Regions from separate parts of the Homo sapiens genome. Here all the other regions are linked to region 1. Evidence: promoter capture Hi-C in 16 types of primary human blood cells and fetal thymus (Javierre and others, 2016). All regions are on one chromosome and are shown on one strand. Each heading gives the region's core, a stretch centred on a gene start or on the middle of the fragment in contact. The rest is flanking DNA. Distances are from core to core; before and after follow the strand shown.

Region 1 (3,536 bases), core at 384-2,883:
AACTTATATACATATATATACACATACATATATACATATAGAAACAGGTGGTCTGACTTTTATGTTTATTGAGGGAAACATGGATTTTTTAAAAAACATTGAGAAACACTGCCTTAAAATCTCACTACACATCTGGACCATCTGTTTCCCTTCTCTTGATCTATCTGTCTTTGAAAAGGATACTATGGATATATTCACGCCAGAAGGAATGAGAGAGAGAACAATACTTTCCAAGGACCATTAGCATCAATCATCAGGTAAGGGTTTTACACATATCATCTCTCAGCTGTTCTTCACAACTATCTGGGGAAGTATTATCAGCGCACTTTATAATTGAGGAGACAGAGATTGCTCTAGAAATGCAATGGGATAGGAGAGCTACCAACTTCCATTTGGCCTGAAAGGCACAAAGATATAAAAAAATACTGACCCTGCTGTTCAGGGTCTTAGCCTCAGAGCACTCCTTGCCCAGGCTGTTCACCATCCTCAGTTGCTCCCAAGCTGAGAGCTGCTTGCCCTCCAGTGCATAGTGTGTGTCGGAAGCCACTGGTTGTCCTGAGGAGTTAAGGTGGCTCTGTCTGTGGCAGCACCTCACTGCAGAGACCTCCAGGCCCAGGACTGAGTGTCTGTTTGGTCTAGAAAACCCGAACTCCCCTAGTCTTCTCTGGCCCTGTAACTTGCAGATAATTAGGATTAATACCACAAATAATAAGAGCTGGGATGTACTGGTGCCTGCCATGACCAGAGCCTGAATCAAGCTCTTTATATTAGGATCCCATTTTCTCCTGCAACAGCCCTGTGAATTTTGCCTGACTTTAAAAAAAAATAGAGATGGGATCTTGCCATGTTGCCCAGGCTGGTCTTGAACTCCTGGGCTCAAACGATCCTCCCACTTTTTGGCCTCCTAAAGTGCTGGGATTACATGCGTGAGGCACAGCACCTGGCCATTACTGCCTTTTTACAGAAGAGTAACTGAGGCTAGCAGCAGCCCAATGTCATGCTGCTGGCAGAAGTATCAGCTTGCTCCTTCTTGTGCTTGGTTTCCAATTCATGTTTTTAGCCATTAGGCCAGCATTTCCCAAAGAATAGGCTACACGGACCAACCTCATCGGAAGCTCATTTTAAATGGGTAGAGCCCTGGGTCACATCTAACACCCGCTGAGCTAGAATCTCTGGAGCTGAAGCTGGAAACCTGAACTTCAATCAGATTTCCCTGGTGATTCTTATGTACATCAAAATTTAAGAACCACTGGAATATGATCGAGGGAAATCTTCCAGCTGCAAATTCATGCTTGCCATGCAGGGGCACCTCATAGCCACTAGATTTAAACTTAAGGATTAGTGTGCAGATACTTGCCACCAGATCACTTTCATAATTGAGGCAGAAATCACCAACCATTGCTGTCATCTCTACAGGGTTTCCTTGGAGTAAAACTGGTCTGTTGCACTGCTGTACTTCATATTTACCACCAGGCGGCATGAGCTCCTAGTAAAGCAACATTCTTGGAACAGCCTCTCAGGCTGAAACAGCCATGCCCAGAGGCAAAAATCAGGCAAACCAGAACCACCCACTGAATACGCATTAGTGAAATTTTAGCTCCTTGTGAGCCACTCAACTGCAGTGCCTAAGCACCCTCCTCCCAGTCATCTATCAGTAATTCATCCCCTGACTCCATGAGATGCCCAGTGACTTAATAAAGGGCTGGGCTTTGCACAGGTGGCTGAGTCCCCTTCATGAGCGTCACACCAATCTCCAGAGGAGACAAAACCAGCAACATACAGGTTTGGCAGCCTTCTGAATCCTCTTCTCTCCTCTAACAATAGCAAACCAGACTCTCAAAGGAGGGGAACATCCTTCTATGACTATAAAATTTTCCTATGACAGGCTTTTGCAACTCTGGAGGACAGCATGGGTTTCTAATGACATTAATTCACATCATGCTGCCATTACTGTGAGCAGATGTGTGGGAAGAGGCATTATTTACTTAAAAATAATCCTCTGTTGTCTTGGGAGGCCGAGGCAGACAGATCACCTGAGGTCAGGAGTTCAAGACCAGCCTGGCCAACATGGTGAAACCCCATCTCTACTAAAAATACATAATTAGCCAAGCGTGGTGGCACGCACCTGTAATCCCAGCTACTCAGGCATCTGAGGCAGGAGAATTGCTTGAAACCCAGGGACAGGGGTTGCAGTGAGCCAAGATCGCATCATTGTACTCCAATCTGGGCAAAAAGGAGTGGAACTCCGCCTCAAAATAATAATAATAATAATAATAATAATAATCCTCTGTTGTTAATGTGGTATCATTTGTGTAGCTAGGAAATTCTCTTTAGAAGAATTTCTAACAGAACAGCTTGGAGAAGAACGTCTGACTGTAGTTAGGGAGGAGGCTGTCTGGACCAACACACACTTGCAGGCAACCAGAAGCCATTGCTGCAGCGCAGCTCAGTTTATTCAGAAAGAGACAGCCAAAAAAAAAAAAAAAAAAGAGAGAGGGAGAGAAAATGGGGCAGCCTGAGATAGGGTTCTTCCTTTTCAGAGTATGAAGTAATGTTTATTCCTGGGAGAGCAGAGTCAACTTAAGTAATGTCTGAAGAGCACTATGAGCTAGGACAGAGAGCAGTGTCAAGGAAATAGAACTAGGCAAGGTTCTGCCTGGATGGAACCTGCAGCCAAGTGAGGAAGATGGGCACTAAATAAGCAGTTGGGTACATTGTCAGGGGTTCAAAAGAAGAATTATATGGGGTACTGGCTTTTATAGCCATGGGCTCTAACTTGAGCCAGGAGCTCAGGAGAGGCTGCCTCCCTGAGAAGATAGTGCTTAAGCAGAAGCTTAAAGGGTAAGAATTGAGTAGACAAAAAAAAGGGCTGGGGGCTAGAAGGGGTTAAGGTTTGGGAAGGGGAAGTAGGACCTGCATGGGATGTGTTCCAAGCAGAGGCCCAGAGATGTAAAAGTGCTGCATACCTGGGAAAAAGAGAACCCCAAAGAACTGGACCACACACACAAGTGTGACCATGACTTCACTACAATTTTCCAAAGTAATATTCATAACATTTTTTCTATGAAAAAATCAGACACCAATTTCAAGCAATGGAAGCAATGTTGCATGAGAAGTATGGCATCTCTGGACCATCTGCTTTTCCTGAGCATTTCACCTTTCAGGTTAAATTATTGCTTTTCCTGAGCATTTCACCTTTCAGGTTAAATTATTCATCTCACATCTGGGAAATGAACATGCAAACATTGCCACCTCTCAGTCTAATTTACTCATGGAGGCTGTAGCTCTCCCAGAATGTCCTCCTTAGAGCAATTTCTAGCCCCTTCTTGGCTAAAGGGAATAAAAATGATTACTATTTGTCTGGGTTTGAAACAATGCTATCCTCAAGGAAAACTGATGATGGAACAGGCTTCCGTATCGTGAGGTTAATGACAGTTTTCCAGAGGCCTAAAATTCAGGGGTCCTTAAGCAGATTTCCTTATCCTTGGAGAAAAGTATGTGGTATTGCAGACACACCACATCAAAAGGTGTTCTTT
Region 2 (3,536 bases), core at 556-3,055, 310 kb before region 1:
AAGTTTCTCAAAGTTATGTACTTTTAAAATGCATCTATTTCCCCGATCCAGTTATGTGAGCTACATGAAGCCATACCCATACATTCATCTCTTTATAACTCCTTTGCTTTTCAATTTCTCTGAATTTTTTTTTTTTTTTTTTTTTTTTTTTTTTTTGAGGCAGAGTCTTACTCTGTCACCTGCCCGCCCAGGCTGGAGTGCAGTGGTGTGATCTCGGCTCATTGCGACCTCCGCCTCAGGGGCTCAAGTGATTCTCGAGCCTCAGCCTCCCAAGTAGCTGGGACTACAGGCATGCACCACCATGCCTGGCTAATTTTTTTTGTATTTAGTAGATACAGGGTTTCACCATGTTGCCCAGGGTGGTCTTGAACTCCTGAGCTCAGGTGATCTGTCCACCTCAGCCTCCCAAAGTCCTGGGATTACAGGCGTGAGCCACCGTGCCCAGCCCAATTTCTCTGAATCTTAGATTCAATTTGCTAGGCTTTTCTCACCAGGTAATATGTAGCCAACAAACCTCAGTTTAATGTTATATATACTTCTTAATAAGATAAATTATGATTTTTTATTAATTCATTTCATTTTTAAGTCTCACTAAGTTTGTTTAAACTATAAAAAAGTATTTAAACTTTGCAAGAACATTACCGCTATTGAGAGCTGGTTTTAGAATACATTGAACAAAGGTTGTGATTAAGAATGTCCAGGGAACATATTTCTATACAGAAGTCAAAGTATCTGAGCTAAATTTTGTTAGAAAAAATATGCAAAAATAACCACTCGACTAATTAAAACATCTGAAAGTTATTAATCGTAAGTAAACAATAAAATCTGGAAATACCTCATTTAGGCACAAAATATCAGTAAAGTACAAATTATTAAAGAAAACAGCAACTTTAAAATAGATGTTGCAGTGACCCAGCTGAAGAATCAGGCAAGCTTAGGGACTCGCAGAGAAATTCACAGTGAGCCAGGAGAGTATGACCTGATAACAGGGTCTTAAAGTTAAGTTTTACTTCTTAGCTCAAAGCTTTTCTTTTGCCTCCCAATTTTTCCAACTTTTAAAATAATTTTTTAAATAAGAATGATAAAATTAAATTCTTTCAAGTACTTATGGTAGAGAGGGTATGTGCACTTATTTACATTAAATCCCCTGGATAATTGAATTATCCATATCCCACTGAGCTCCTGATTAACAATTGTCCCATGAATCCTTCCTTATAGAAAAGTGAATGTGACCATAATTCCCTATTTTGTTCAACTTTTCTTCCATCCCACCTTGACATTCTATGTAATTATTTTAGTCCATTGATAAAAACAAGTTAATATTTTTTATACTTTATTGGCCAGCAGGGGATCTCTCAAAACAAAGAAAGTGTTTTATACATTGACAGTTCTAGCTGGGATATTTAGAAAAGAAAGAAATGAGCATTTATTTGTGCCCGGTAGGCAGGATGGAAACAAAGAGGCCCAAGATGTGGTAAAGTTAGGCAAATTTGGTATAAAACATGCTAGAATGATGAAACTGAAGTTTAACCAGACACCGGTAGGTGGAACACAAGCGTGAAACAAGGGAGGATTTACTCTTGTGATGAGAAGTTGGCTACTAGATTTAGCAGACTAAAATTTCAATGACAAATGCTTTCTTAAAGCCTGGAGAACATAGTTTATCTGCTCCTTTGCTTGTTAATGTGGGAGACTGTTTCAGATTCTGTCCACCCAATTTCCATCGTCCTTTTTCTCTACAGAGTGAAATTATCTCTTACTGGGGATTCCCTAGTGAGGAATACCTAGTTGAGACAGAAGATGGATATATTCTGTGCCTTAACCGAATTCCTCATGGGAGGAAGAACCATTCTGACAAAGGTATGGGAAGGCTCTTAAAAGTAAAAACCAGAATTCTTCTGGGTTTTGTGTTAGTAACCAAGTTCAGATTTAACTTAAAAACATTGAAATGGGATTATTTTTAGACGAAAGCACTAACTGTGTTGAGGTTTGCAAGGCAAAGAAAAATAATTTTCTTTTAAAGAAGTAAGGACAAGAGTCATCTAATTTTTTGTTCAAAGGCCAGATTCATTTGAGGATATGCTAAAATCTCTGAGGCTTTGTTTTTTTAAGGAAGTGTATTTAATGAAATGTTTTGAGCATTAAATAGATGGCTTTTGCTATTTAAAAATTATTTAATTTTTTTGAATTCACATAATCTAAAAATCAGAGAATTAGAAGACATACAGTGAAATGCCTCCCTTCTCTCTCACTCCCTACTTCCTGCTTTTTTGTGTATCTTTTTGAAATAACTTCATTTTAAAATCTTTTTATTTCCAAAAATCTCATTAGAAACAAATACACACACAGATTCTTATTTTTCCCTTGCCTCCATTTGAATGCAAAAGATGGCACTATTTTGTTCTTTGAATTTTTTACTTAATATCTTGGAGATCTTTCCATACAATACATAAAGCACATCTTCCAGAAGTGCATGATATTTCACTATATGACTGTATCATTATTTATTTACCAAGTGTCCTATTAATGCATATTTGTGCTATTTCAGTCTTCTGTTAACAAATATTGCTGCTGTAAATAAGCTTTTGTGTGTGCAAGTTTATTTACATGATACATGTCCAGAAGTAGAATTTTTGGATCACAGGATATATGCATTTGTGATTTTGATATATATTGCCAAGCTGATTTTCATGTGCATGTGTCCTGATAATTACTATCACTATGAATATATGAAAGTTCTTGTAGCTTTGGCTTAAAAAGTATATATATACATATATATGTATATCTTTTTTCTCTCTCTCATTTTATAACTCAAGCAAAACTGCAGTTTCCAGTGCAGATAAAGGAATTTCTAGACAGACTGATTGAAATTATTAAGCAGTTATCAGAAGAAGGATCTAATCTTTATTCAATTATCTCTCCAGATGTAGCTTATTTATTTATTTATTTTTTTGAGACGGATTTTCGGTCTTGTTGCCCAGGCTGGAATGCAATGGTGCAATCTTGGCTCACTGCAACCTCCGCCTCCCAGGTTCAAGTAAGATGTAGCTTATTCTCTAACATTTTTTTGTTTCTGGAGACTTTTCTTGGGGAAATTAAGGTTTAGATTAAGGTAGTTAGATAGCTATTTATTCTTCAATTTAAGTGTTATACGGGCAAAAGAGCCACCTTTGCCTCAATTCCTGCCCAAATTGTTATTCAAAGCAAACTTAAACACCCTTTGTGTTAATGTGAGCATTGTATTATTATTTGCTTTGTTTTTTCTTAATTTATCCTAGTTTAACTTTTTTCTTCCATGTGTTCTAGCTGTAATAAGATTTTAATAATGTTTAGGTGGCCACGACAACCATTTTTTTTGAAATTTGATTTCTAACTCTTGAGATTTTTATGCTTTACAGATATATGCCATTAAGCTTCCTTTTTATAAATATGTTATAAAATGAGTGATGAGTTATAGTGAGAGCTTTTAGTTTTTCCTGTGCTCAAAACACTCAAAACATATATTTTATGCTAGAGCGAGCATATGATCTTGGTTT
Region 3 (3,536 bases), core at 423-2,922, 260 kb before region 1:
AGTAGAACTACCATTTGTTTCAGCAACCCCACTACTGGGTATCTGCCCAGAGGACAAGAAGTCATACAGAAAAGATACTTGCACACGCAAGTTTATAGCAGCACAATTCGTAATTGCAAAAATGTGGAACAAACCCAAATGCCCATCAATCAATTAGTGGATAAAGAAACTGTGGTATATACATATATGATGGAACATTACTCTGCCAGAAAAAGGAATGAGTTAATGACATTCACAGCAACTTGGATGGAATTGGAGACTATTATTCTAAGTGAAGTAACTCAGGAATGGAAAACCCAACATTGCATGTTCTCACTCATAAGTGGGTGCTAAGCTATGAGGATGCAGAGGCATAAGAATGATACAATGGACTTTGGGGACTCTGGAGGTGGGGGGGAAAGGGTGGGAAGGGGGTGAGGGATAAAAGACTACAAATTGGGTTCAGTGTATACTGTTCAGGTGATAGGTGCACCAAAATCTCATAAATCACCACTAAATAACTTAGTCATGTAACCAAATACCACCTTTTCCTCAAAAAACATATGGAAATAATTTTTTAAAAGGTAAAAAGTCTTGTATTTCCCTGCTGATCTTCCATCTAATTATTCTGTCCATTATTTAAAGTGGGGTTTTGAAGTTATTGTTAAACTGTTTCTCCCTTCAATTCTGTCAGTTTTTGCTTCACACGTTTTGGGGATCTGTGCTAGGTGCATATGTGTGTTGAATAGCTATATCTTCTTGAAGAATTGAATCTTTTATCATAATCCAATCATTTTTGTCTCTTATAAAAATATTTGTCTTTTTTTTTTTGAGACAGCTTCTCCTAAGCTTTTCCTTTCAAGTCTTTCCTCCCAAGGTTTCGGTTAGTTAATTGCTTGCCCAATTGCTATCTATTGCCCAAGCAGCAGCACTGGGTGAATCCAAATTAGGTTAGATAAAGGCAGGCTTTTTGGGCTTATCCTCCAAGCAGACACCAAACTGGTCATAACAAATGACCAAAGTTCTTTGGGAACAAAGTGCATTCTGCTCCTGCCATTACCAGTACCTGTAATAGGAATGCAGAATGTTATCTTTAAGGCAACTGTTGAGATGGGAAATGGGGCATGAAGCCAGGGTAAATTAAAAGGACAAAAAGTTATCTGTTCTTATTGAGAGTCAGCCAATTTTTATTCATTAAGCATTTTCCTGGTTCTTGCAAGCTTTTGTTTAGTTTCCAAAGTTCCAATAAAAGTTGATTCTGATAGTTTTTGATAGTTTTTCCGTTACCTTTAAGAAGGGATAATTTTTTGAGTTTCTTACCCTCCATTTCAACTCCTACTTTGTATGTTTTGAATAATTTAAAATTTCTGAAGGCTGTTTGTGGTTGAGAATATGATCTATCTTGGAAAATGTTTCACGTGTGCCTGTATGAGTCAGCTTGGGCTGCTATAACAAAATACTATAGATTGGCTGGCTTAAACAATAGATATTTATTTCTCATAGTTCTGGAGGCTATGAGGTGCTGGCCAATTCAGTTTCTGGTGAGGGTCCCCTTCCTGGCTTGCAGACAACCACCTTCTCACATGATGCTGAGAGGGCAAGCGATGGTCACTCTTCCTCTTCTTAGAAGAACACAAATTCCATCATGGGAGCCCCACTCTCATGACCTCATCTAAACTTAATTGTCTCCCAAAGGCTCCACCTCCAAATACTATCACATTGGGGGTTAGAGCTTCAATACTTAGGGCTCCAAAATAATTTTTTTTTTTGTTTTTGGAGTGGAAACAAACATTCAATCTATAACAATACTTGCAAAGAATATGTATTCTCTTCTTGGATGAAGTATTCTGTAGTTGTTTAGTACATCAAGTTGATTGAAGTGTATTCCATGTTTCTTATATCCGTATTTTCTTTCTACTTGTTCTCTCAATTATTGAAAGTGGGTTTTGGAAATCTCCGATTATAATTGTAGATGTGTCTGTTTCTTCTTTTAGTTTTATCAATTTTTGCTTCATTTATTTTGAACTCTGTGAGGTATATTTTTACATGAGGTATACAAAAACTTAGGATCATAATGCACTCCTGATTTACCAAGCAACTACTGTGTGACAACCATTCTTCTACTTGCTTTTTTACATGTAAACTCCTTCACTGTTAAAAGCTTATTCAGTAAATGCCATCTTATTTTTAAAGAGGAGAAAAAAATGGAGGCACAAAGTGGTGAAGAACCTCACACAAAGTTTTATATAGCAGAATAAAAACCCAAACATGAGGCTGCAGTGCTCTCAATTTTAACTAGTATGTTATTTTAGGTGTGGAGGGGGGATTTGAACTTAGAGTAAGGTCACACAGAGGAATATGATTAAATTGCAAGCTCCCTTGGAAACTGAGCCTTTGTCGTAGCAGTTGTTGAACTGGTTCAAATCATAGCATATCAAGTATATCTATTATTAGACGAAAGCACAAAACATATTTTCTTGCAAAACAAAAGTAATTTAGCTTGGAGGCATCATTTAAATTTCACATGTTTCTGTTTCCATCTTGGTAGTCATGTGTGGTCTTAGAGCTGATTTCTCTTTTCCTATCCCTGGATTATACAAAAGCAGTCCCAAGGTGGCTGATGAGAAGAAAGGATATATCTTAAAAAGATTTTAGTTAGTCCTGTAAAAGCCATTGCCAAGGAAGCTCAGTAGTCAACCCCAGTTGGCCAATAGAGCTTTATTCAAATGCCTTCTGCAACCTCCTCTGTTTCTTGCTAAATCATTTAGAGATAGAACACTGGACTTCTAATGAAAAGAAGGGATTTGAGTTTTAGCTTTTTCACCTACTAACTTTGTGACTATGAAAAAGTGACATAACTAATCTGCACCATCAAACTACTATAGTACCTACTAAAAAGGTTATTTTGAGGGTAATACATAAAGCACCATTTAAATATGGGGTATTTTCCTTATTCTTATTTTTCTTCTTTTAAATAAAGGATGCCTGCCTCCTCCAGTATCTGCTTGGCAGCCTGCAAGTCATTACAAATAAATATTATTTAATAAGTTCCTTCCATTTATCAGGCACTTTTGTCTACACCATCTCATTTAGCCCTCATTAACCCAGCAACCTTATAGAATCTTTTTCACAATTGCCAAAGGAGGAAATTGAGGTTCAGAGAGATTACATGACTTACCCATAACTACCCAGAGTGTATGTGGAAAACCAGGGTACAAATTCAGTTTGTAAGTAAAGCGTTTTTTCCCCACCCATCACCTCCTCTCTCCTCTCTCCAATAATATGCTCTCTAAGTCAGCCATGTACAGCCATGCAGGTTGTACACTGAACAACTCCAGGGAGTGTCATTTTTGTAGGCGGTAATGTGAATGGCACCCCCTAGAGATGTGGAGTGCTCAACTTGCAGAGCTATATGAGGAGGCCCTGGATCCTGTAATGTGTTTTGTTCAGAGTCAAGAAGATTTTACTGATAACCATATCCTCACCTCAGCCTTCTTTCAATCATTCTGGAGTTGCTTTCAATGCTTTTATAAATCTGAGTAAATGACCTAAAGGAA

What was found. Contacts are between HindIII fragments. The CHiCAGO score rates a contact against its expected background, and 5 or more counts as called.
Region 2: a contact is called between a fragment that was not itself captured here and the fragment with the promoter of ACTA2-AS1 in region 1, in 3 of 17 cell types (total CD4 T cells, activated CD4 T cells and total CD8 T cells). The highest score is 5.9, in total CD4 T cells.
Region 3: a contact is called between a fragment that was not itself captured here and the fragment with the promoter of ACTA2-AS1 in region 1, in 1 of 17 cell types (activated CD4 T cells). The highest score is 5.8, in activated CD4 T cells.

What each region holds. Positions count from the first base shown.
Region 1 is chr10:88,930,781-88,934,316 of GRCh38, reverse strand. It overlaps ACTA2-AS1 (ACTA2 antisense RNA 1), which reads right to left and starts at 1,633. Exons shown (of 5, transcript NR_125373.1): 1 at 1,358-1,633; 2 at 431-676. RefSeq lists an enhancer at 1,943-2,042. The HindIII fragment of the contact is 5,161 bases long and covers 1-2,835 here.
Region 2 is chr10:89,244,000-89,247,535 of GRCh38, reverse strand. It overlaps LIPA (lipase A, lysosomal acid type), which reads left to right. Exons shown (of 10, transcript NM_000235.4): 3 at 1,743-1,860. Among named protein-coding and RNA genes, the nearest start is that of LIPA, 6.0 kb to the left of the region's middle. The HindIII fragment of the contact is 1,558 bases long and covers 1,027-2,584 here.
Region 3 is chr10:89,186,999-89,190,534 of GRCh38, reverse strand. The region is part of intron 2 of LOC105378418 (a long non-coding RNA gene); the gene reads right to left. Among named protein-coding and RNA genes, the nearest start is that of CH25H, 19 kb to the left of the region's middle. The HindIII fragment of the contact is 941 bases long and covers 1,202-2,142 here.